Regions from separate parts of the Homo sapiens genome. Here regions 1, 3, 4 and 5 are each linked to region 2. Evidence: promoter capture Hi-C in 16 types of primary human blood cells and fetal thymus (Javierre and others, 2016). All regions are on one chromosome and are shown on one strand. Each heading gives the region's core, a stretch centred on a gene start or on the middle of the fragment in contact. The rest is flanking DNA. Distances are from core to core; before and after follow the strand shown.

What was found. The method cuts DNA at HindIII sites, captures the fragments that hold promoters and counts their contacts. A CHiCAGO score of 5 or more calls a contact.
Region 1: a fragment that was not itself captured here is called in contact with the fragment with the promoter of MAP7D2 in region 2 in 5 of 17 cell types (total CD4 T cells, naive CD8 T cells, neutrophils and 2 more); the score reaches 7.7 in total CD4 T cells.
Region 3: a contact is called between a fragment that was not itself captured here and the fragment with the promoter of MAP7D2 in region 2, in 1 of 17 cell types (non-activated CD4 T cells). The highest score is 5.2, in non-activated CD4 T cells.
Region 4: a fragment that was not itself captured here is called in contact with the fragment with the promoter of MAP7D2 in region 2 in 1 of 17 cell types (neutrophils); the score reaches 5.9 in neutrophils.
Region 5: a fragment that was not itself captured here is called in contact with the fragment with the promoter of MAP7D2 in region 2 in 6 of 17 cell types (endothelial precursors, naive CD4 T cells, non-activated CD4 T cells and 3 more); the score reaches 6.4 in endothelial precursors.

Annotation. Positions count from the first base shown.
Region 1 is chrX:19,355,375-19,358,361 of GRCh38, forward strand. PDHA1 (pyruvate dehydrogenase E1 subunit alpha 1) reads left to right here. Exons shown (of 11, transcript NM_000284.4): 7 at 1-130; 8 at 312-383; 9 at 2,278-2,345. Among named protein-coding and RNA genes, the nearest start is that of PDHA1, 13 kb to the left of the region's middle. The HindIII fragment of the contact is 2,524 bases long and covers 1-2,512 here.
Region 2 is chrX:20,114,014-20,118,574 of GRCh38, forward strand. MAP7D2 (MAP7 domain containing 2) reads right to left here and starts at 2,894. Exons shown (of 17, transcript NM_001168465.2): 1 at 2,737-2,894. The coding sequence starts at 2,866. The HindIII fragment of the contact is 4,441 bases long and covers 775-4,561 here.
Region 3 is chrX:19,524,765-19,529,678 of GRCh38, forward strand. No RefSeq gene overlaps it. Among named protein-coding and RNA genes, the nearest start is that of MAP3K15, 12 kb to the left of the region's middle. The HindIII fragment of the contact is 7,748 bases long and covers 1-4,914 here.
Region 4 is chrX:19,385,042-19,389,468 of GRCh38, forward strand. All of the region lies in intron 18 of MAP3K15 (mitogen-activated protein kinase kinase kinase 15), which reads right to left. Among named protein-coding and RNA genes, the nearest start is that of PDHA1, 43 kb to the left of the region's middle. The HindIII fragment of the contact is 8,970 bases long and covers 1-4,427 here.
Region 5 is chrX:19,562,558-19,567,060 of GRCh38, forward strand. All of the region lies in intron 13 of SH3KBP1 (SH3 domain containing kinase binding protein 1), which reads right to left. Among named protein-coding and RNA genes, the nearest start is that of MAP3K15, 49 kb to the left of the region's middle. The HindIII fragment of the contact is 4,351 bases long and covers 1-3,726 here.

The DNA.
Region 1 (2,987 bases), core at 1-2,500, 760 kb before region 2:
GGCAGCTTTGTGGAAATTACCTTGTATTTTCATCTGTGAGAATAATCGCTATGGAATGGGAACGTCTGTTGAGAGAGCGGCAGCCAGCACTGATTACTACAAGAGAGGCGATTTCATTCCTGGGCTGAGAGTAAGGACACCTGTGGTGGGGCCGGGGCCAAGGCCAAGGCCAAGGGTATGTCCTTGTGCAGACCCTTGACGATCTTAGAAACATTGGAGAGTTTCATTCTCATACAGGAGCAGGTCATGTGAAAGTAAAATGGTTTGGGGCAGTTGGATTCATGCTTCGCCCCTCCCCTGTTTATTACCAGGTGGATGGAATGGATATCCTGTGCGTCCGAGAGGCAACAAGGTTTGCTGCTGCCTATTGTAGATCTGGGAAGGTAAGGCTCTAAAGCCCTCTGGGCTAGTGACATTTATCTCTGGAAGTTCAAAGACTGCCTCCCATGTGCCTGCTGAAGCTGTTAGTGGGTACCTGCTAATTGAGGTGCATGAGATGGAAGCAGAGTGAAGGGAGCAGGGCTCCTTTGGGTAGCTTGGTCTTGGTAGCTCACCTGCTGGGAAGCCTACGTTTCTCTCATTTGGGGGAAGTCCGTTCTGGTGCTTCCTCTGCTTTGGCCTGTCTTCATGACAACTGATTTGCCTTTTCCTTAGGTTAATTCTGTCCCTCCTCCCCACCCCCCATTAATCATGAGTCCCTTGAAGGAACAGATTGGGGATCCCCACAGTGTCCAGCATAGAATGTCATGTATACAATAGGCATTTAATATGTGTGTCTTATACAAATTAAACAGTATGGTAGAAGCTCGTAATCTTAGTCTTGCTCAGTCCTAAGGATCTTTCCCTTTTCAGTGTATGGCAGTGAGGGAGATGGTAAGAGGGAGACTGGCCTAAAGAGGTTTCACTTCCTTTGGCACTAGTATAGGCTTAGGAGGTTTGGGTGTTCTCCCTAAATCAGTGTTCTACAGCCCAGAAACAAGGTTTCTGAAGTTGGCACTTCAGCGCCATACCATGTACGTTTAGGCAGTGATGTGAATCAGATGTGGCCAGCAATGATGGAAATGTCACAAAGTGGAGAGACAGGGAAGTGAGGGTGGGAATGTAGTAACATTAAATAAGAGCTAATGAGTAGAATGAACTAGAGCAGGACCAAGACTACAGCTTGGGTACAATGGGCTGAGCAGTCTATGTCAGGACCCTAAGGCTGGGAGTGCCAGGCCCTGAGTGATGGGTATTGACGCCACCTCTCCCAATTCCTGAAAAGAATACATGGGGGCCAGCCCTGGCTGGAGACAAGGGGAGTTGTAGAATGTAGTTGTAGAATGTGTGACTTTCCCAAACAGATAACCTTCACAATTCTGAGTTAGGTGTTATTGTTTTGCCCATTTTGCAGACAAGGAAACTGAGCCATAGAGCAGTTAAAGGTACACAGCTACTCTGTCTTGGAGCCAGCTCCCCACTCGCCCATTTTAACTGCTGCACCAAACCAACCAAGGATCCTCAATGTTTCTCCACCCCAGTGTTCAGAGCCGTCTCCTGGAAGTGGGCTAGTGTAGAATGAGCGAGCCCAACTGTCCAGACTCCCAGCAGAGCCTTGGGGTTTGGGTAGCAGAGGTTGTTGGTGCCTGCCAACTTTGTTACACACTAGCAAGGTCTGTGAAGTAGGAGTGGCTGCCAGCCCCACAACACACCATGAGAAAGGAGCATGAGATGGAAATCTGTCTAGCCAATAGCAGGAGGCTCTAGAACATGCTCAGAGCCTTTTTCTTTTTTCACAGGGTCTCGCGCAGTGGCACACTCACAGCTCACTGCACCCTTGACCTTCCAGAATCAGGTGATCCTCCCAAGTAGCTGGGACTACAGGCGCACGCCACCATGCCTGGCTAATTTTTGTATTTTTTGATAGAGATGGGGTTTTGCCATGTTGTCCAGGCTAGTCTCGAACTCCTGGGCGCAAGTGCTCTGCCCACCTCAGCTTCCCAAAGTGCTGGGATTACAGGCATGAGCCACCATGCCTGGCCTTCAAAGCCTTTTTGATTCAAAACAAGCTGTTGGCAGATTGCCTTATTAAAAATGAGAAAGATGAAATATGCAATCAATACTTGCTAGAAATGAGAACAGATCAGTCAACCAATAAGAAATTCGTGACAACTCAGAAGATCTGATAAGACTACACTGGACGCTTAATAAAGGGCCTGCGTTTGAGGCCGTGGATTGCCGGCCTGTTCTTCCAGTCATCGTTCCTAACTAACTAACTGCCTACCGGTTCTGTTTTAGGGGCCCATCCTGATGGAGCTGCAGACTTACCGTTACCACGGACACAGTATGAGTGACCCTGGAGTCAGGTACGCTCATGGGCAGTGTGGTTTCCATAGGGGTGGGCTTTGAATGGTGTTACATGGCAAAAGCAACACATTTCAGTATTTGCTTTTGGAGCTAGATACCAGTTCACTTCATGTACGCAGTTGTGTTGGGCATCAAGTTATCTGAAAGCAGTGCCTCCTAATAAGAAAGCTTTCTGAAAATGCCTACAGTGTATAGTGTGTGTGAGCACAAGCAGCAATTTTTAAAGAAAGAGTGTTATATACCTTAATTGTAGAGGGAAATTGTTACATAAAACAGGGCTGATGGTAGTGTAGTATCTTGGGGGCATTTAGCTTTTGTAGGCATTACCCCAAGTCTACACCTGGCATACTCTACCTGAAGAGGATCAGAATTTGGAGATGTTCCTCTGTCTGGTATAGAGCTAAGGGTAACTGGGTGTTCAATCCGTTGAAATACATCAATCAAAAAAGCTAGGTTCCACTAGGAAGGCATGAATTTTACTTTTTTGCTTAGTAGCTCTGGCCTGTGATTCTGGAATCCCAGTTTTGACACAGTTGAATAAATAAGCCTTTGTAGAGTGGACTTCTAAGGAAAAATCATGTAGAGAGCACAGTATATGGAAAAATGCACTTTGTGTAAATCTATTGTTGAAAATGGTAGAA
Region 2 (4,561 bases), core at 1,644-4,143:
CTCTATCTCCAGGCCCCACCCTATTTTGTTTTTCTTTCGAGACGGAGTCTCGCTCTGTCACCCAGGCTGGAGTACAGTGGCGCGAGGTCAGCTCACTGCAACCTCCGCTTCCTGGGTTCAAGCGATCCTATGCCTCAGCCTCCCAAGTAGCTACGATTACAAGCATGCGCCACCAGGCCCGGCTAATGTTCGTATTTTTAGTAGAGATAGGGTTTCACCATGTTAGCCAGACTGGTCTCAAACTCCTGACCTCAAGTGATCCACCTGCCTCGGCCTCCCAAAGTGCTGGGATCCTGGGCATGGTGGCGCAGAAGTTGCAGTGAGCTAAGATTGTGCCACTGCACTCCAGCATGGACAACAGAGTGAGACTTCATCTAAAAAGAAAGAAAGGAAATATGGTTGAGATCTGGTGATTCTATCTGCTGGTTAAAGGTTGTTAAGCAGATTGAAACAAGCACTTGCTCATTTGTTATACTATGTGTATCAGACAAGCACTAAAATGGACAGTAGATCTGGTAATTTCTATTCAGAGGTAATTAAAAGGAAAGAAAGAAGGCATCACTAGGGGGTAATGGGAACATGCACAGGATTTCAATATCGGAAGAACCTGTTGCTAGAGGAAACCACCAGCGGTATTTCCTTTCCGTCTTTTACACAGCTCCCAGGAAAACCACTTGCCAACTCATATCCCCTAAGTGTGCAACACAAAATTGTTGGACAGCCTAAACATCTCAGGTCTTTCTGTATTTTGCAGCCTTGACAGCACCCAGCCCAAGCTTAGGAACAATGGTTGACTCTCTAGAAAAGCAGGTTAAGTCTCATTAGGAATGGGTCCCAAATGCTAAGGGCCTGGGTAACCAAGAATGATCAGTATCCAGGACAGATAATTATAAAACCTCAAAATCATAATTTTTCTAAGGAGACTTTACTTAAGTACCTGGCCTTGCTAACTCCCCCAAACAACAAATGGTGGTATCACCTGGCACCTAAATTAAACATTCCAATTTTACCATACCAACCTTAATGCACATAGGTGCTTATTTCACATTTTAAACCTTCACACATATTTTTCTATATTTCCAATTTCAAATGAAGGAAGATATCCTTAAGCTAATCTTAATATCAGAAGAGTGCATTAAATGATTCTACAATAGTTTCCAAACAGAACTTATTAAGAATCTCCCCCGCAAAAGTACCTCCTCCCCTTCCCCAATTTTGTTTCCATTAAAAAAAAAAAAAAAAAAACCCCTTAAGTTCCTTCAAATAAAATCCAAGATACACTGAAAACCCAATCATACCGCCCCTCCCCACCTCTCATGAGTACAACAGAACATCGAAACAAACTATTATTTAAGCTCTCAACCAAATAAAAATGCAAACTGAAACAACCTCTCCTTTTCAGTGTTTTATTATACAAGGTCGCCTCTGCCACGGAGGGTCGTTCTGGTGGGTAGTTTCCAGGTTCTTCCCTAGCAGATGCAGCTTGAGTGTTTCAAGCAAAAAGGATAAAAACAAAAGCACACATTTCAAAGGTAGTTATAACGTTATCCTGTGACAGTTAATGAATTCTGCCTTTAAAATAGCATAATGAAAAATACAAACTGGAAATGATTTAAGCTATCTCCTCCTCCTAAGAATGATGCAACTGAAGGCCCAGTCAGAAAATACTACCTCGCCCCCTCAACCCCAGTGAAAAAGCGTGTTTTAAGAAGATTTCTCTTGATTTCTTTCCTTTTCTTGGCCCATCGTATATAAAATACTCCCATCTTCACTATGTGATAATTCATCGAATTATAGTTTTGTGTGGTTTTTTAAATGCATATTAGACTGCAATAAAAAATGTTTTAAAAATAGCCTGCCTTATTAACTAAAAATAAAAAAGTTGTTGTCAGGAAAAACAGCATGAAATCGGTTTCCATGCTGCTTACACCCCCGCACTACCTGCAACCACTTTACAGAACGTTAGCATCAGACCTGCTTATCTAAAATCCTGCCAAATGTCCTCACAGTCTCCTCCGCTGCCTCGCTGGCTTCTGGGCAGCCAGGGACCAGCCCTCCATGGCTCCCAGCATCGGCAGCCTCGAGGGCTGAGAGCCTTGTTTGCCCCGCTGCCTCGATTGAGGGCCGCGGCCCGGCCACCTGAGCAGCGTTCCCAAGACAGGGAGCGCATCCGGGCGGGAGGAGCACCCGGTCCGGGGCAGACGCCTGGCCGCCCGGGCGAATCTGCCTCTGCCAATGGGTGACACGCCGATTTTGCCCCCTGGAAACGCCAAGAGGCGCGAAGCTGGGCCACCTTCGCCGCGGGCTGCAGCGGCGCTCGCGCGCGTTTCCCAGAACGCAGAGAGAGCGCGCGCGGAGGCCGGGGCAACCCCAGAACCCCGCTCGGTTTATCCTAACGACCCCCATGCCGGCTGCTCCTCGAGGACGGGGACTGGACCCGCAGCACCCCCTCAGGCACCTCCATCCCAAACACACCTGCCGCCCACCCTAAGCCACCCCCCATGTGTACCCACTCACCCAGGTCGCCCCAAGAAAGAACCCCGCCACTCGCACAGAGAGGGGTGCGGCCCTTGGATGCACGTCCGGACGATCCTGGGCCAGGGAAAGGGCGTTTATCTCAGCTCTGCGCCGTGCCCCTTCCCCCCACGCTCGAGGACCTTTGCCCTGGGCCGCCGGGCCCGCCCCCCCACAGGAACCCGAAGCCCTCGGGCGCCCGCCACACTCTGGGGATAATACCTTGAGGCCGGTAGTTGGGCTGAGAGGTCCGCACCGCGCCCGGTTCTGCGATCTTCCCTGGGAGAGAGGTTCCCCGCGCAGTCCCCTCAGGCCGGGATCCCGTCCCGGAGCCGCCGCCGCCGCGCTCCATCGGGATGCGCCGGCCGCACAGGCGCACTGCCAAGCCCGCCGCGCCGCACCGAACCCGCGCGCGTCCGCATGCGCACGCGTCCTCACGCAGCACGCGCGCAGGGCGTGCACGTGCGATAAGCGCACCGGTTACCACGCACAGCGCACGCAAGGCGTGCACGTGCGATAGGCGCACCGCTTCCACGCACAGCGCACGCAGGGCGTGCACGTGCGATAGGCGCACCGGTTCTCACGCGGCGCGCGCTTGTAGCGTGTGCATGCAATGTGCACAACAGTCCTCACACAGCGCGTACGGGCGTGCACGCGTCCTTACACGCTGCTGTACACAGTGCACACACAGAAGGCGTGCGTACGCACACAGTTCTTCATACGATGCTTACATGCAACATGCACACACAACGTGCACACCCAGCGTAAATGCATCTTCTCACAGTAGCAGATACACACTCAAAGCGTGTGTAGATGTAGGGTGCAGTTTCTCAGACACCGTGCACACACATCCTCACTCAATGTGTGAACACAGAGCACATAACGCGCACACACGTGCTCACTCAGCACGCACACGCTTACACTCACTGGGTGTCTGCATGCAAACTCAGCAATGCAGCCTTGGGAACAATTTCTGGCTAGGCCCCCAGGTGGGTGCCAGTTGGGCCAGTGACATCTGTGCAGACGCCAGAGGACCCGCCCTCCATGCATAGTTAGGTTCCAGTTTTCGAGGCGCACGGGTAATCAGTGTTTAGTGACGCCCCACCCTCAGCGTGCGGTCACCCAGAGAGGGACAGCAGCAAGCTATTGGGGTCGATCTTCAACTAAGAGGCAGCGGCACGCGCCGTAGGCCGACCTAGGCCTTTCAACGACACCCTACTCCGCAGCCAATTTGGTTCCTCTTCTCCTGAGGCGTAAATAATGCTGACTGAAACCTCCGCGATGCCGGGTGTGGTGGCTCCCGCCTGTAATCCCAACACTTCGGGAGGCTGACGCGGGCGGATTGATTGAGCTAAGGAGTTCGAGACCCCCGTCTCTACAAAAAAATTTTAAAAATTAGCTGGGCATGGCGACTCATCTGTGGTCCCAGCTACTTGGGAGGCTGAGGCGGGAAGATCGCTTGAGCCCGGGAGGTCGAGACTGCAGTGATCACGCCACTGCACTCCAGCCTGGGCGACAGAGACCTTGTCTCAAAAGCAAAATAAAACAAAAAACCTCTGAGGAGGATCTCTCCGAGAAGACACACAAGAAACTGCTAAACGGGTTGCCTCCTAAGTAGGCACTTTTACCACTGCCATGCACATTTATTATCTTTTCAAAAACATTGAAAAAGACATCTTGGCAGGGCCGGCTCAAGCCTTTTGTTTACCCAGGCCTGCCAAGTGATAACCCGTTCCCATGGAGCCCCAGGCTGCATGTTTTTTCTCGTTGGAAGGTGACCAGCCTGAAAGTTTTATTACCACTCCTGGGGGGAGATATACACGATTAAAAATGAAGCTGAATAATGGGTACAGGTTTTCTTTTTTGGATGAAAATATTCTAGGATTATGATGAGTGCACAACTAAGTATACTAAAAACTATTGAATTGTACATTTTAAGCGGGTGAATTTTATGGTCCCTTAATTATGTCTCATTTTTTTTTTTTTAATGTGAAGCTGAAACTCTCAGGAATGGGCACCTGTACTCTTGGCCAAAGCTGGGAAAGTC
Region 3 (4,914 bases), core at 575-3,074, 590 kb before region 2:
TCACACCTGTAATCACAGCACTTTGGGAGGCTGAGGCAGGCAGATCGCTTGAGCTCAGGAGTTCGAGACCAGCCTGGGCAGCATGGGAAAACCCCATCTCTACAAAAAAATACAAAAAATTAGCTGGCTGTGGTGATGCATGCCTGTAGTCCCAGCTACTTGGGAGGCTGAGGCAGGAGGATCACTTGAGTCCAGGAGGTTGAGGCTGCAGTCAGCCGTGATCACACCACTGCACTCCAGCATGGGCTACAGAGTGAGACTATATCAAAAAAAAAAAAAAAAAAACTAAAACTAAAACCATAGTGATCATAATTATTTAAAATTCCTGCCTGTAATCCCAGCACTTTGAGAGGCTGAGGCAGGCAAATCACCTGCAGTCAGCAGTTCGAGACTAGCCTGGCCAAAATGGTGAAACCCTGTCTGTACTAAAAATACAAACGAAAAATTAGCCAGGCATGATGGCATGCACCTTTAGTCCCAGCTACTCGGGTGGCTGAGGCAGGAGAATTGCTTGAACCTGGGAGGCAGAGATTGCAGTGAGCCGAGATCACATCATTGCACTCCAGCCTGGGTGACACAGCAAGACTTCATCTAAAATAAATAAAATAAAATAAAATTCTCTCTCTGATACTTTAATAGCAATGCCATATCTAAGTCTGAATCTGATCACTTGTCTCTTCAGAATGCTTTTTCTTTTCTTTTGGCATGCCTTGTAATTTTTTGTTGAAAGGTGGACATTGTATATAGGGCAGCAGATACTAAGATAATAAACCTTTAGTGTGGGACTTTATGTTGATCCAGCCAGGAGTTGGGCTGTGTTGAGATTTGTTTTCCTATGAACATTACAAACTTCAGATTCCTCTAGTGATCTTTTTTTGTCCCCCACCTCTCTTGGCTTTGGGGCTTCCCTTTGTGCTGCTCCCCAACGTCTGTCTCTTGCAGTCTTCCCTGCTATTGTTATTCCTGGAGGCTTGTTAGCATGCTGTTGGGAGATGGATTCTCTAATATTCTAAACTTCAGTCTTTGGAGTGCACAGTGGGCTTGTGTCTCGGGTGTAACTTTCACAGTTGTTTCTGTTTCTCCTCCAGGGACAGAGCTCCCTCCCATTCCCTTCTCCCAGCTGCAGTGGGTATCTACAAGTGTTTTCAGTCTATAGACTTGAAGCCCTTTTCTCTGAAGGTTGAATTGTTTTTAGTTGAGATGAAGAGCTAGAGTTGAGTGCAGTTCCCTCCCCTAGTTGCAATGGTAATTCACCAGGGCCCTCGGACCATGTCTTTCCCCATGCAGAATAGCCTTTTGTTCCTTAAGGGAGAAGGGTCTGAGTAGATTTCTCAGTGGTTCCTGAGCCAGCACCATGAGTTTTCTCTGGATTTCCCCTGATCTTCCCTGTGAGAACCAGGTGGGGTTCCTGGAGGAAAAGCCTGCAGAAGGATGACAGTCTTTCTTAGGAGCTGCACACTCTCAAGCTAGCCCACAGTTGGCTTCCAGAAATTGGTCAAATTTTCTAGCCTGACCTTTCTACCTAGTTCTATGGCATCTGGTGGTTTCTGCCCTTGGTAACCAAATGCTCAGATCCTGTGTCTTGCAGGAAGTGCCTAGCCTCTTTTTTTTTTTTTTTTTTTTTTTTTTTTTGAGACAGGGTCATGCTCTGTCACCCAGGCTGAAATGCAGTGGTGTGATCACGGCTCACTGCAGCCTCAAGGCTCAAGTGATCCTCCTGCATCAGTCTCTCAAGTAGCTGGGACCACAGGCAGGCGACACTACACCTGGCTATTTTTTGTCCCTTTTGTAGAGACGGGGCCTTGACATGTTGCCTAGGCTGATCTTGAACTCATGGGCTGAAGCAATCCTCCCGCCTCGGCCTCCCAAACTGCTGGGATTACAGGTGTGAGCCACCACACCTGGCCCAGATTTTCAAATGGCCATTTGCTCTTTGAACTTAGTTCTCTATTAATTTCCAGTCTGTCCAGACTTTTTCTTGTTGTTAGCACAGGAAGGGATTTCATGCAGCTCTTCCATATCTCTGAGCTGAAACTGGAAGTCCTATCTATTCAACCATATTTGATCTAAAAAAAATGTTAGTTTCACATGTTTCAACCAAATAGACTACGGCATTATTTCTGAGTAGTGCACCTTGTTTTGCTTCAGCCAAGGACAACTAGAGATTTCTGGAAAAGATTGCTGTCAGCTACTCTACACACAACTCACTGGGAATGAGTTGATCCCCCCATGATGGTGGTCTTCAAACTTATGCGTGCATCAGAATTACTGAGAGGACTTGTTAAAACACAGATTGTTGGGTTGCTTTCCAGAATTTCTGATTCAGGAAGTCTGGGACAGGGCGCAAGAATTTTCATTTCTACCAGGTTCCCCAGTGGTGATACTAATGCTGTTCTTTTGGGGATCACATTCTAAGAACCACTGCTCTATGGCTCTTCCTAGAAGCTCAGCGCTTATCTACCTTTCCCACTTACTCATCACTTTGAGGGCAGATGGTTTGCCCTGAGAGGGAGCAATTAGGTTCTCAGCTGACCTCAGAGAAGAATCAAGAGTCAGCAAAGAATTCCCTTTTTTTTTTTGAGACAGAGTCTTGCCGTCACCCAGGCTGGAGTGCAGCCTGCAAGTCACCCAGGCTGGAGTGCGGTGGCATGATCTCAGCTCACTGCAACATCCACCTCCCAAGTTCAGGTGATTCTCATGCCTCAGCCTCCTGAGTAGCTGGAATTACAGGTGTGTGCCACCATGCTGGGCTAATTTTTGTATTTTTTAGTAGAGACAGGACTTGTTGGCCAGGCTGGTCTCAAACTCCTGTCCTCAAGCAATCCACTCGCCTCAGCCTCTCAAAGAGCTGGGATTACAGGCATGTGCCACCATGCCCAGCTAATTTTTCTATTTTTAGGAAAGATGGGGTTTCACCACATTGGCCAGGCTGGTCTCGAACTCCTAGCCTCAAGTGATCCACCTGCCTCGGCCTCCCAAATTGCTGTGATTACAGGCTTGAGCCACCATTTTCAGCCCAGAATTCATTTCTTTTTTTTCCTCCAGAATGAGTATAGGAAAAAAAAAAAAAAAACTTTACTTTCTAAAACAGAGGTAGCCACAGGTTTCTAAGTAGTGACTGGACGTCTTAGAGAAAATGGTGTTCAGATGACATGAACTTGGTTTTGAGAACCATCGTAATGCAAGAAGCACTCTCCTTAGGGTCCGGGTGTTGGCTGAGACTCATATAGAAGTAAAGTGCTCTGAAGGCTTTCTTTGTATCTGTTTCTTTTGCTGTGGAGCTTCCCTACTGCCCCAGTTTTGTACTAAAGTTTTAGTAAAGGTCAAACCGGGCTGCTCAAATGTATAGAATAAATTGCATTTGACATCAGTCACAATTACCAATTCATCTATTCAGTCAACTACATATCAAGTGATTACTATTAATATATATCTGTCAATGTTTTAGGTGCTGGGGATAGAGCAGTGACAGAAAAGTCACTATCCTCAGAGTGGTTTCATTCTAAGGGAGGGGAGATTGAAAACAGAAACAAAGCAAGCAAGGGAAAACAAATGAAGGAGGTGTTGATATGGGGACTCTGGGGGTGGGTCAAGGCTAAAGTTGCTCTTTTATTTAGAGGGGTAGGGAGGGCCTCTCTGATGAGGTGACATTGGAGCAGTGACCAATCAGGGAAAAAGAGATCCAGACCTGACCCCCATCAGGATTTAGGCAAATGCAACTTTAAGGAAAGATGGGTGGTTAGTCACTTGTATATGCTAATGTTAATAATTAACTAAGTTTATAATTGGCCAAAAATGATTTTTGCTAAAAATATCAGGCAACTTATACTCACGTTCCACATTTTGGAATTATCTTAAGGATAGGTCAGAAATGTGGACATAGGCCAGGCATGGTGGCCCACGCCTGTAATCCCAGCACTTTGGGAGGCCAAGGTGGGTGGATTGCTTGAGCTCAGGAGTTCAAGAGCAGCCTGGGCAACACGGTGAAACCCTGTCTCTACCAAAAATACACACACACACACACACACACAAATGTAGCCAGGTGTGGTGGCGTGCATCTGTGGTCTCAGCTACTTAGGACGCTGAGGAGAGAGGATCCCTTGAGCTCGGGGGATGGAGGTTGCAGTGAGCCGAGATGGCACCACTGCATGCACTCCAGCCTGGGTGACAGAGTGAGACCCCATCTCAAAAATAAATAAATAAATAAAAAGAAAAGAAAAAAGAAAAAAGAAATGTGGACATAGATTGATGCGTAAAGATGTCCATGACAACTTTATTTTAAAAAGAAAAAAATTAAGTTCGTGAGAAATGTGCTTCTTTCCCTGACCTTCCCTCCCCTCAAGGCTCCAGTGGGCGTGTCTCCTCTGTCACGCCAAAGCTCTGGGGGCTTTTCTATGTGGTTGTGTTTTGTATTGAGGAAGACTTGCCTGTTTACCTGCCTACTTCTGCCCATTTGACACCGAGCTCCTTCAGGGCAGGGACTCTGTCGCATTCAGCGCCTCTCATGGCATCTGGCACATCACCATAAGCACCCTATATATGTTAGATAAGATATTGGTCAAATGCTTTCTGGAATATTTACAGATGGAATACTATGCAGCCATTACAAATTGTTTTCACAAAAAAAAGACAAAAAATGATATTAAGTATAAAAAGCAGGCTATAAAACTATAAATACAGAATGACCTTCTTATCAGAGACCAAAATTAAAGGCTGTTTCTGAGAATGTCTGTCTTCTCTTTATATTTTGTATTTTCTACTTTGGGCATAAATATTCGCTTCATATTCAGAAAAAAAGTTATCTAAAAATTCTCAAGGTGACTTTGTTCTACATTTGAGCCTACAGTCACCACTCTGGTGCTCTAAACATTTGTTTTTTTTGGCGGCGGTGGGGACACGGTCTCAACTCTCTCA
Region 4 (4,427 bases), core at 1,209-3,708, 730 kb before region 2:
CATATTAGTTATTTACTGCTGTTTAAGAAATGATCCCCCAAATCTATCAACTCAAACAACAAATAGTTAGGTCTTACAGCGTTTCTAAGGGTTGAAATCCAGCAGCAACTAACTAGCTGGGTGGACCTGGCTCAGGGTCTCCCAGGAAGTTGCAGTCCAGATGTCAGCTGGGGCTACAGTCATCTGAAGGCTGGACTGGGGCTGGAGGATCAGTTTCCAAGCTCACTAAGGATAGAGCTAGTGGGGGGCTTCAGTTTTTCATTACATGGGATCCTCCATAGGACTGGTTTGAGACATGGCTTCCCTCAGAGAGACTGATCCGAGAGAAAGAGGAATGGCACACTGCCTTTTATGACCTAGTGTCCAGGTCACACACCATCACTCCCACTTCTTCCTATTCATCAGAAGCAAGTTGCTAAGTCCAGTCCACATTCAACGGGAGGGAACTACGCAAGGGTGTGACTATCAGGAGGTAGGGATCATTGGGGGTCATTTTGGAGGCTGCCTGCCACAAATCTGACTCCTGGTGAGCACTTGATGGCTTACCAATTGTCTCCACATAGCCTTGTCCATCTGACTCAAACGACTCTGGAAGGTTAGGCAGAGGAAGCACTATCTACCATTATTCCTACTTTACACAGGAGGCAACTGAGGTTCAGAGAGGCTAAAGGATTCGCTTAGGCTAGAACCCATATCTTCTACCTTCAAGTTCAGAACTACACACCATGACATCACTCATCCATACACTACATCAAGAAGAAGCGCTGCTGGAAAAAAAAAGCTGCCTGAATAAGAGTAGCACGTGTAAGGATTTCCAAAGCCATATTGGAGCATCTTTCCATGTAACTGGAAGGTACAGGGCACTAATGGAAAACTGGGTGCTCCATTTTATTCACTACTGTATTCACAAGGTAACCATCCACTCTCAGAACAGCTAACAGAGAGAGATAAATGCACACAACTATTTCAGATACTCAAGGGAACACTCCCTGGCAGGATGCATGTTGGGTGTGTACATCAGCTAACCCAAAGGCTGGATTCTGTCAAGAAAACCAAGTGAAGATGGCATTGTGGGGCATCTGAATCACGCACAAATCCTGGAAAATTGGGTTTCCTTCAATCTGGCTCTCATAGGCCAGGCACGGTGGCTCACACCTGAATCTCAGCACTTTGGGAGGCCGAAGCAGGTGGATGGCTTGAGGTCAGGAGTTCAAGACCAGCCTGGCCAACATGGTGAAACCCCGTCTCTACTAAAAATACAAAAATTAGCCGGGCATGGTGGCGTGTGCCTGTGGTCCCAGCTACTTGGGAGGCTGAGGCAGGAGAATCGTTTGAACCCGGGTGGTGGAGGTTGTACTGAGCCATGAACGCGCCACTGCACTCCAGCCTGGGCGACAGAGTAAGACTCCATTTCAACAAAACAAACAAACAAACAAAAATCTGGCTCTCTTGGGGCCCCATATGCTCCCTAACCTATATTTCCTCCAAGGTATGCCCTACCACACTGGTCACTGGTCACAGCCCACTACGGCTCTTAGGTACCTACACCAGTGCAGTGGTGCAGAGTTCAGAACAAGGTGACCAAGAGACCCACAGGCACTGACTCAGCCCCCCTAGGGCACAAAATCCACTGGGGACTCCTGGAGAATTGTCCAATAGGATTTTCAGATTACCAGCAAAGAAGACACACAGCAGAAGACACAAGTTTATAACCGAGGCCCAGGGACCTTCTAATCTGATCAAGGGGCTGAGAGAGTTGACAGAGTAGTTTAGGGGGGTGGTGCTGAGACAGCTTCTTTAGAGAGAGCTATGCTGGGCTGCCTACCCTCTCCCAAGTTACAGGATTTGGGGCAGGACTGTCCCCAAAAGGGCGTGGGCCCAGGGCAACTCAAGCCACTCAATACCAACTTATGATCATCACATCTTCCACAGGCCCTTGGAGATACCGTTAGAGCCTAAATTTCAAGATTTCATATTAATCAAGTACAGAAAAGAAAAGTAAGGTACGATTTTCCCATAGTCCAGGGGACTACCCTAGTTGACCTGACCAAGGGATAAGCCTGGTGGAAAGGTGGCGCCACTTGTTCCTAACCCAAAGCCTTTGAAGGGGGCTTCACTGAGCGACTCAGCTCCATGTGTATGTGTTCCTGTAGGTAAATTACACAGTGGACTGGCACCCAAGTGAGCAAAGGTTAACTTCCAGCAGCAGACAGGGGGCTGTAAGGTGTGGGGATACTGCCACACCCTCTCAACAGTGGGCTGAAGCTGCTTGAACTCTGGACACCAGATGGGGGACCCTATTACAGAAATACTGCCTTAGGGTTTATCTTTTATTTGTATTATTTATTTGATTGATTGACTGATTGACAGGGTCTCATTCTGTCGCCCAGGCTGGAGTGCAGTGGCACAATTATGACTCACTGCAGCCTCATTCTCCTGGGCTCAAGTGATTCTCTCACCTCAGCCTCCCGAGTAGCTGAGACTACAAGTGCGCACCACCACACCCAGCTGATTTTTATATTTTTGGTAAAGACGGGGCCTCACTATGTTGGCCAGGCTGGTCTCAAACTCCTGGGCTCAAGCGATCCTCCCACCTCAGCCTCCCAGAGAGCTGGGATTACAGGCGTGCCCAGCATATGGTCTTCTTAAAAGGAATCCTGGGAGTCTCTCTCAGAACCTATTCTGGTTCCAGGGGCTGCCCAATAAAAAAATAAAGAAAAAAGAAAAGGAATTCCTGCTCAAACGCAGTCCTCCACGATCTGAATCCCTCAACAGAAAGAGATGGAAGGAGGAGGTGATGTAAGGGGTAAATAACTGGGAGGAGGGGGCTGTCAGCCAAAGGACAGGCCCCTGCCCACGACACAGGAGTTACATCCAGAGGGAGCCAGCGAGGGAAGATAACTAAACATCAGCCAGGCCCACAGCACGCAAAGCCAGCTTCCAACAGTGCTAGTCAAGTAACAACTTTCCCTGCCCCTGTCCTCTCCTTCCTGCAGCTGGTGATTAGGGAGAAAAAGACAACACCCAGCTCCTGACCACAGGTCGCTGCCTGCAGGGAGACGGGAGAGGGGTCTGACTTTTGAATGAGGACCAGAGCGTTGATCAGTATCAGCCTGAATCTTTTTTTTTGAGACAGGGTCTTGCTCTGTCACCCAGGCTGGAGTGCAGTGGCACAATCGGCTCATGCAACCTCCGCCTCCCGGCTTCAAGCGATGAGTCCTTTTTAATTCCTGAATTCAGACTGTGTGCGCTCCTTCAAGTGTCATTATGACTTTCTCTGTTATGTAAGGGTGGCTGGAAAAGTCAAAGGAAAGAACTCCCGCCCCAGGCAGGATGAAAAGTGGGAGAGAAAAATCCAGTGGCTTTTGTGATTACACCCTTTGAGTCCAATGGGTTCAACACGTTAGTTACACACACAAACTCAGTTCTCTCAAAGGCTCCTTCCAGCTCTAATAACCCATGACTTCTAAGTACAAGCGAGTATTTAATTAGCAAACACTTCAATTGCACTTGCTATGTGCCAGGGACCAGTCAAAGCACTTCATCAGTAACTCACTTTACCCTCATAAAAACCCTATGAGTAGGTACAACGAGCATTTCTATTTTACTTACGAAGAAACTGAGGCACATGGAGGTTAAGTAATATGCCCAAGGTCACACAGCTAGCAAGTGGTTGGGCCAGGATTTGAACCAACGATGTTTGCAGCCAGACGAGAACAGACTTCCTGTCCCGAGTTCTCCCTCTAGGTATCTACCCAAGAAGGCTGAAAACACATGTTCACACACGCTTTGTATGTGAATGTTCACAGCATCATTATTCGCAGTGGCCAAAAAGTAGAAACAATCCCAAATGACTGTTAACTGGTAAACGGATGAACAAAATGTGGTTCTCCACACAATGGAATGCCATTCAGCCATGAACAACAACGAAGTACCCATACACACCACTGCATGGAGGAACTGCAAAAACAGGACTCAACGTGCAAGAAGCTACATGCAAAACCCCACATATTGTATTCATTCCAAGCATATGAATATCCACAACGGGCAAAGCCACACAAACACAACAAAGCAGATGAGTGATGAGCTGGGGCTGGAGTGGGAATGGGGATGAGTACCAAGGGGCACGGGGTCTGCTAGGTCCAGACACTGGATCGTGGTGATGGCTGAGCAACTCAGTAAATTTACTGAAAACCAAAGAATTGAGTACTTCTAATGGGTGCTTTGATGATATGTCAGCTATACCTCGATAAGGCTGCTAAAAAAAAAAAAAAAAAAAAGGCAGGGCTGACCCTGGCTATAACAGCCCTTCCTCCTGTTCTCGCAGGTTCCTATGTGTGGGGCAAACCCTTCAGAGGAACACAGGGAGGGAGGGCTCCAGGCCAGGAAGTTGACTGAAACCCTCTGGCTCTCCTGCCAGGCTGAGC
Region 5 (4,503 bases), core at 301-2,800, 550 kb before region 2:
CACCCAGTACCTCCAGAATACGGCACTAGAATACGGTCTCAGCATGTAGCAAACATAGAGGCACTCAAGCCATCAGACTGAATGATGAACGAGAGCGCTGGCCACAGAGATGCAGGCGACCACATTACCAGGGGAGGCAGGACATGCTGACTCTGCACATAGGTGAGCATTTGGGGCTGCCTGCAAGTCCACACAGCTACTAGCCTCTGTGACCCTCTCCAAGCCAACAGCCATCTGAATTGATGCTCCCTAAATGTCCCTCCACCTCTCTCAGGTCAGCTATTTTGCAGGCTGGTGGGTATAGAGCACTTGGGTAGGACAGTACTAATTTGCTCTCTGTATATTGGAATAATTCATACCACCAAATGCACTGCTGCAGTGAGGTTCTGCAACATTTGCCATCATGTCCCCACTTTGACGTAATCTCCCCCTGTTTCTATAGCATTTGTGAGGCTTTTCCTACAGGCACTTTCAATGTTTACTGAGTTTGCGCTTATGGGATGTTATGGGGTAAAAGATGTTCGTGAAGACCCTCATAACTAAGCACAAACCCAGCCACCGTGATGGACCACCAAAGGCCAGCAGGACCGCCCTGTGCAAGGTGCACAGGCAGAGGTGAGCACCTCGGTTCTGGTGAGGATCAACATCTTTGACTGAGAAAGTCTAAGTGGAGATGCTCATTTTACACCCAAGATCAGGCCCTTCAAAGGGCCCTGAAGGACCATCTCCTGTAGGACTGGAGGATGCCTTTCGAAATGAGTGCTGGTTGCCAACTTGACCTTGTTTCCTCAGCAGCACACCTCCACTGTGAGCCTGAGAGGCTGGGAACCAGGGGAGGGCTCAAGGGCGATGCAGGGAGAAGGCCATCCACAGAAGCTGTTCTGAATTAGCTACGCCTCTGTAAGTTCGAGGAAGGAACCCAAAATGCTCAGAGGATTGCCTGGGTTAAAAACCCATCAATCAGAAGCGCAACCTGTTTCACTTCCTTTGTATAAAGCGTTTGACCCTCAGCACAATCTCTTTTGCTTTCTGTCATCACACTTGAGAAATGTATAGTGCTTTTCAGCTACTCCTGACAAAAATTTAAGTTTGATCACGATTTGTGTCCCTAGATAGGGACCGGAGCTGCACACGTCCACACATGGGCACCGCAGCCCGTCATATGCAGACTTGACTGTAGACCAGTAGCAACCGTATCTCCTGTTCTTCAGCACAGGTAACATCAACCATGTCCTTGGTCCCAAAGGCTGTGTCTGAAGGTTGCCAGTAAGGAGACAGTGTCTGTAGGAGCCAGCCGTGGCTCTTCAGTGAAAGTTCTCATGTCTGAGCAACTAATCCCGAGAGAGCTGGAAGGCGCGGCTGTTGTTCACACACACGCTCAGCCAGTAGTCAATCTGGAACACTCCAAGTGTCATTCATGGGTTTTTGTTTTTTTTTAATGGCAGGCAGGACACAGTATATCTTGTTTTATTGAACCTGAGCAATTGCTCAATGATCTGACATGCTGCAAGGACCAATAACTGGCTCTCTGGCTCCAAAAGGGGAAGTTTAAAATATGTATTTTAAAAACAGGACAGAAAAACCAATAGCCCCAAGTCAGGAGATCTGAATTTTTCCTCAAAATTTGTATGAGAAACCCTTAGAAGTGATTTATTATCATGAAAGGTAGAAATTGCAAAATAAGGTAAGAATGTAATCACTTGTTTGTAGACATTTGGTGTCACATTCACAAAAATGTTGTGTTAATGGTCGCTATTACAATTGCTCTCTCTTGCTCTCCTGTATAACTTTACCATACAGAGTACAGATTTAGAACTTAGTATTGATCAAATTTGTTATTGTCCTTTTATGTAATACCCGTTTAAACACTGGGTAGTTGATCTTTGGCAAATATCTAATCACAAATCCAATACTCTTTCTATTTGAAATCAGACTCAAATGGTATCATTTCACTTGCTGCAAGCCTTAAGATGGCCCCTCTCCCCTCTCTTCTCTCGCCTCTCTCTCTCTCTCCCCCCCCTTCCTCTTTCTCTCTCACAAAGGTCACAGTCATGTCCTTGGTTGATGTTTAATTACTTCAAATATAATTACTTTTTTGTATATGAAATATTTTCAAACTAGGTTTTATAGAGATTCTCAGGAAATGAGACAGGCCACTCCAGGGAACACAAGTTGCACTTGCAGGGGAAGCCTGTCCTCTTCCTGTTCCTAACACAGACTGGGCTCTCTGGGCCTCGGTGCTATTGACATTTGGGGCTGGGTCATTCTTTGTTGTCTGTGGGGGCTATCCTACACACTGGTGGATGGTTAGCAGCATCCTTGGCCTCTATCCACTAGATGCCAGTAGCATCTCCACCCCCACCCCTATGATGTGACAGTCAAAAATGTCTCCAGACATTGCCAAATGTCCCCTTGGGGAGAGCAGTTGAGAAATGCTGATGTGGACCTAGAAGGTTTGGGCTCATGGGTCAGAGAGACCTGGCTTCAACTCCAATTTTTTTTTTTTTTTTTTTTTTTTTTTGAGGCGAAGTCTCGCTCTTGTCCCCCAGGCTGGAGTGCAGTGGTGCAATCTTGGCTCACTGCAACCTCCGCCTCCCGGGTTCAAGCGATTCTCCTGCCTCAGCCTCCCAAGTAGCTGGGATTACAGGCGCCTACCACCACACCCAGCTAATTTCTGTATTTTTAGTAGAGACAGGGTTTCACCATGTTGGCCAGGCTGGTCTCGAACTCCTGACCTCAGGTGATCTGCCCGCCTTGGCCTCCCAAAGCGCTGGGATTACAGGTGTAAGCCACCGCGCCTGGCCTTCAACTCCAATTTCTTACTAGCCAGATAATCTTGCTCAGTTTCCCCAGCTTGCTTTCTTCCCTGTTCCTTCACTGTAAAAACATGAGTCATTACACATCCTTCATAGGGCTATGGACGGTGAGAAAAAAATAGACAAAACATTTAGTGGGCACCCAGTGAATATTAGTTCTTTCTTTCCTTACTCTTGCTTGCTCTCACTGCTCTTATTTCAACACTAGAACCTCAGGACGATGGAAGAGGGGAGATGAAGGGGGAGGGTTTGTTCTCCACTATATTAGCAGAATGATTCTAACACAAGGATATTCCACACACAGCTCCTGTACTCACACTGTACCTCAACGAGGATTAAAAGTTATAAAGGCATGTTCTACCCCAAACATGCTTACAAAACACTCTTAATCCTTTCTAACGCTTTGGGATTATTGTTTCACCAGGGTTGTAATCAGCTACAGATCAAAGTCCAGGTGGACCTTGATTTTTTAAAATGGTGTACAACAATACACACATTTAACACCCTAAGGGGACGTTTTACATTACAAAATGATTACTAGGTTTTGGAGACCTTTTTTTTTTTTTTTAAGATGGAGTTTTGCTCTTGTTCCCCAGGCTGGAGTACAGTGGTGTGATCTCGGCTCACTGCAACCTTTGTCTCCCGGGTTCAAGCGATTCTCCTGGGCTGAGGTGGGAGGATTGCATGAGCCCAGGAGTTAGAGGCTGCAGTGAGCAATGATTGCACTGTTGCACTCCAGCCTGGGTGACAGAGCAAGACTATCTCAAAACAAAAATACCATTAACTTGAGAAGATATAGCCTTCTAGGATTAATGTCTCTGTGGCAAAGAGAGAGAGAAAACCAAACCTCAGTACTCTATTTCTGGGCTCCCAAATATATGCAACTGTGCTTAGTTTCCACAGCATGAAAAGCTTCTATAGGTGAACCCGCCCCCCCATCAATACCCCCAATATTTCCACACTAGCTCATCAGACTGAAAAACATGTGATTCATATTTTCATGATAGCGATCATAGACATCTCCAGACCCAAAGAATGCAAAGGTCAAAGGTGAATGCTCTTAGCAAGCAAGACAGATTATCCTGTATATTCTGGAGGAGGGAGAATACCTCCCTTCCTATTGACATGAGGGAGGTGACAAGACAGCCTCCTGAGGTCGCACATGACCTTCACCAACCAGCCACCCTGGCTTAAAACAGGGCCCAAATACGAAACTGCGGTGGTAGAACCGGAACTTAGGCTCATTCTGACAATCCCCTTTCATTCACAGCCAATTACTGCTCTGCTCTGCTCTGCCTGCACTTTAAGCAGAACAAAAGCTACAGCAGGCCAGAGTTTCTGTTATTGCATCAGCCCAAGCTATCAGGTTATGCTTCCTGACTGGGCTTCTCAAGGGCTGAGGATGTAAACGAGCTTGTGGAAACAGGGGAAGTACTTTTGGCATTAACAGTCACAGTCACACATCCTAGCCCCAAGCCTGCATGAGATCAGACCAGAGACTGCAGGTCAGCAGTTGCAAAGATGCAACTCTATCAGCAGATTCAGAGGAAAACAGCACCCAAACAGAGGGACAGCAGCAGGAGAGCAGAATGCTCATGTTGAGAGCTCTAGTGCTCTTACAAGGCCTGCCAACCATCGCACATCTGTTTCTAAAGTGAGTGGCCCAAGCAGATGATGCTGGAAAGCT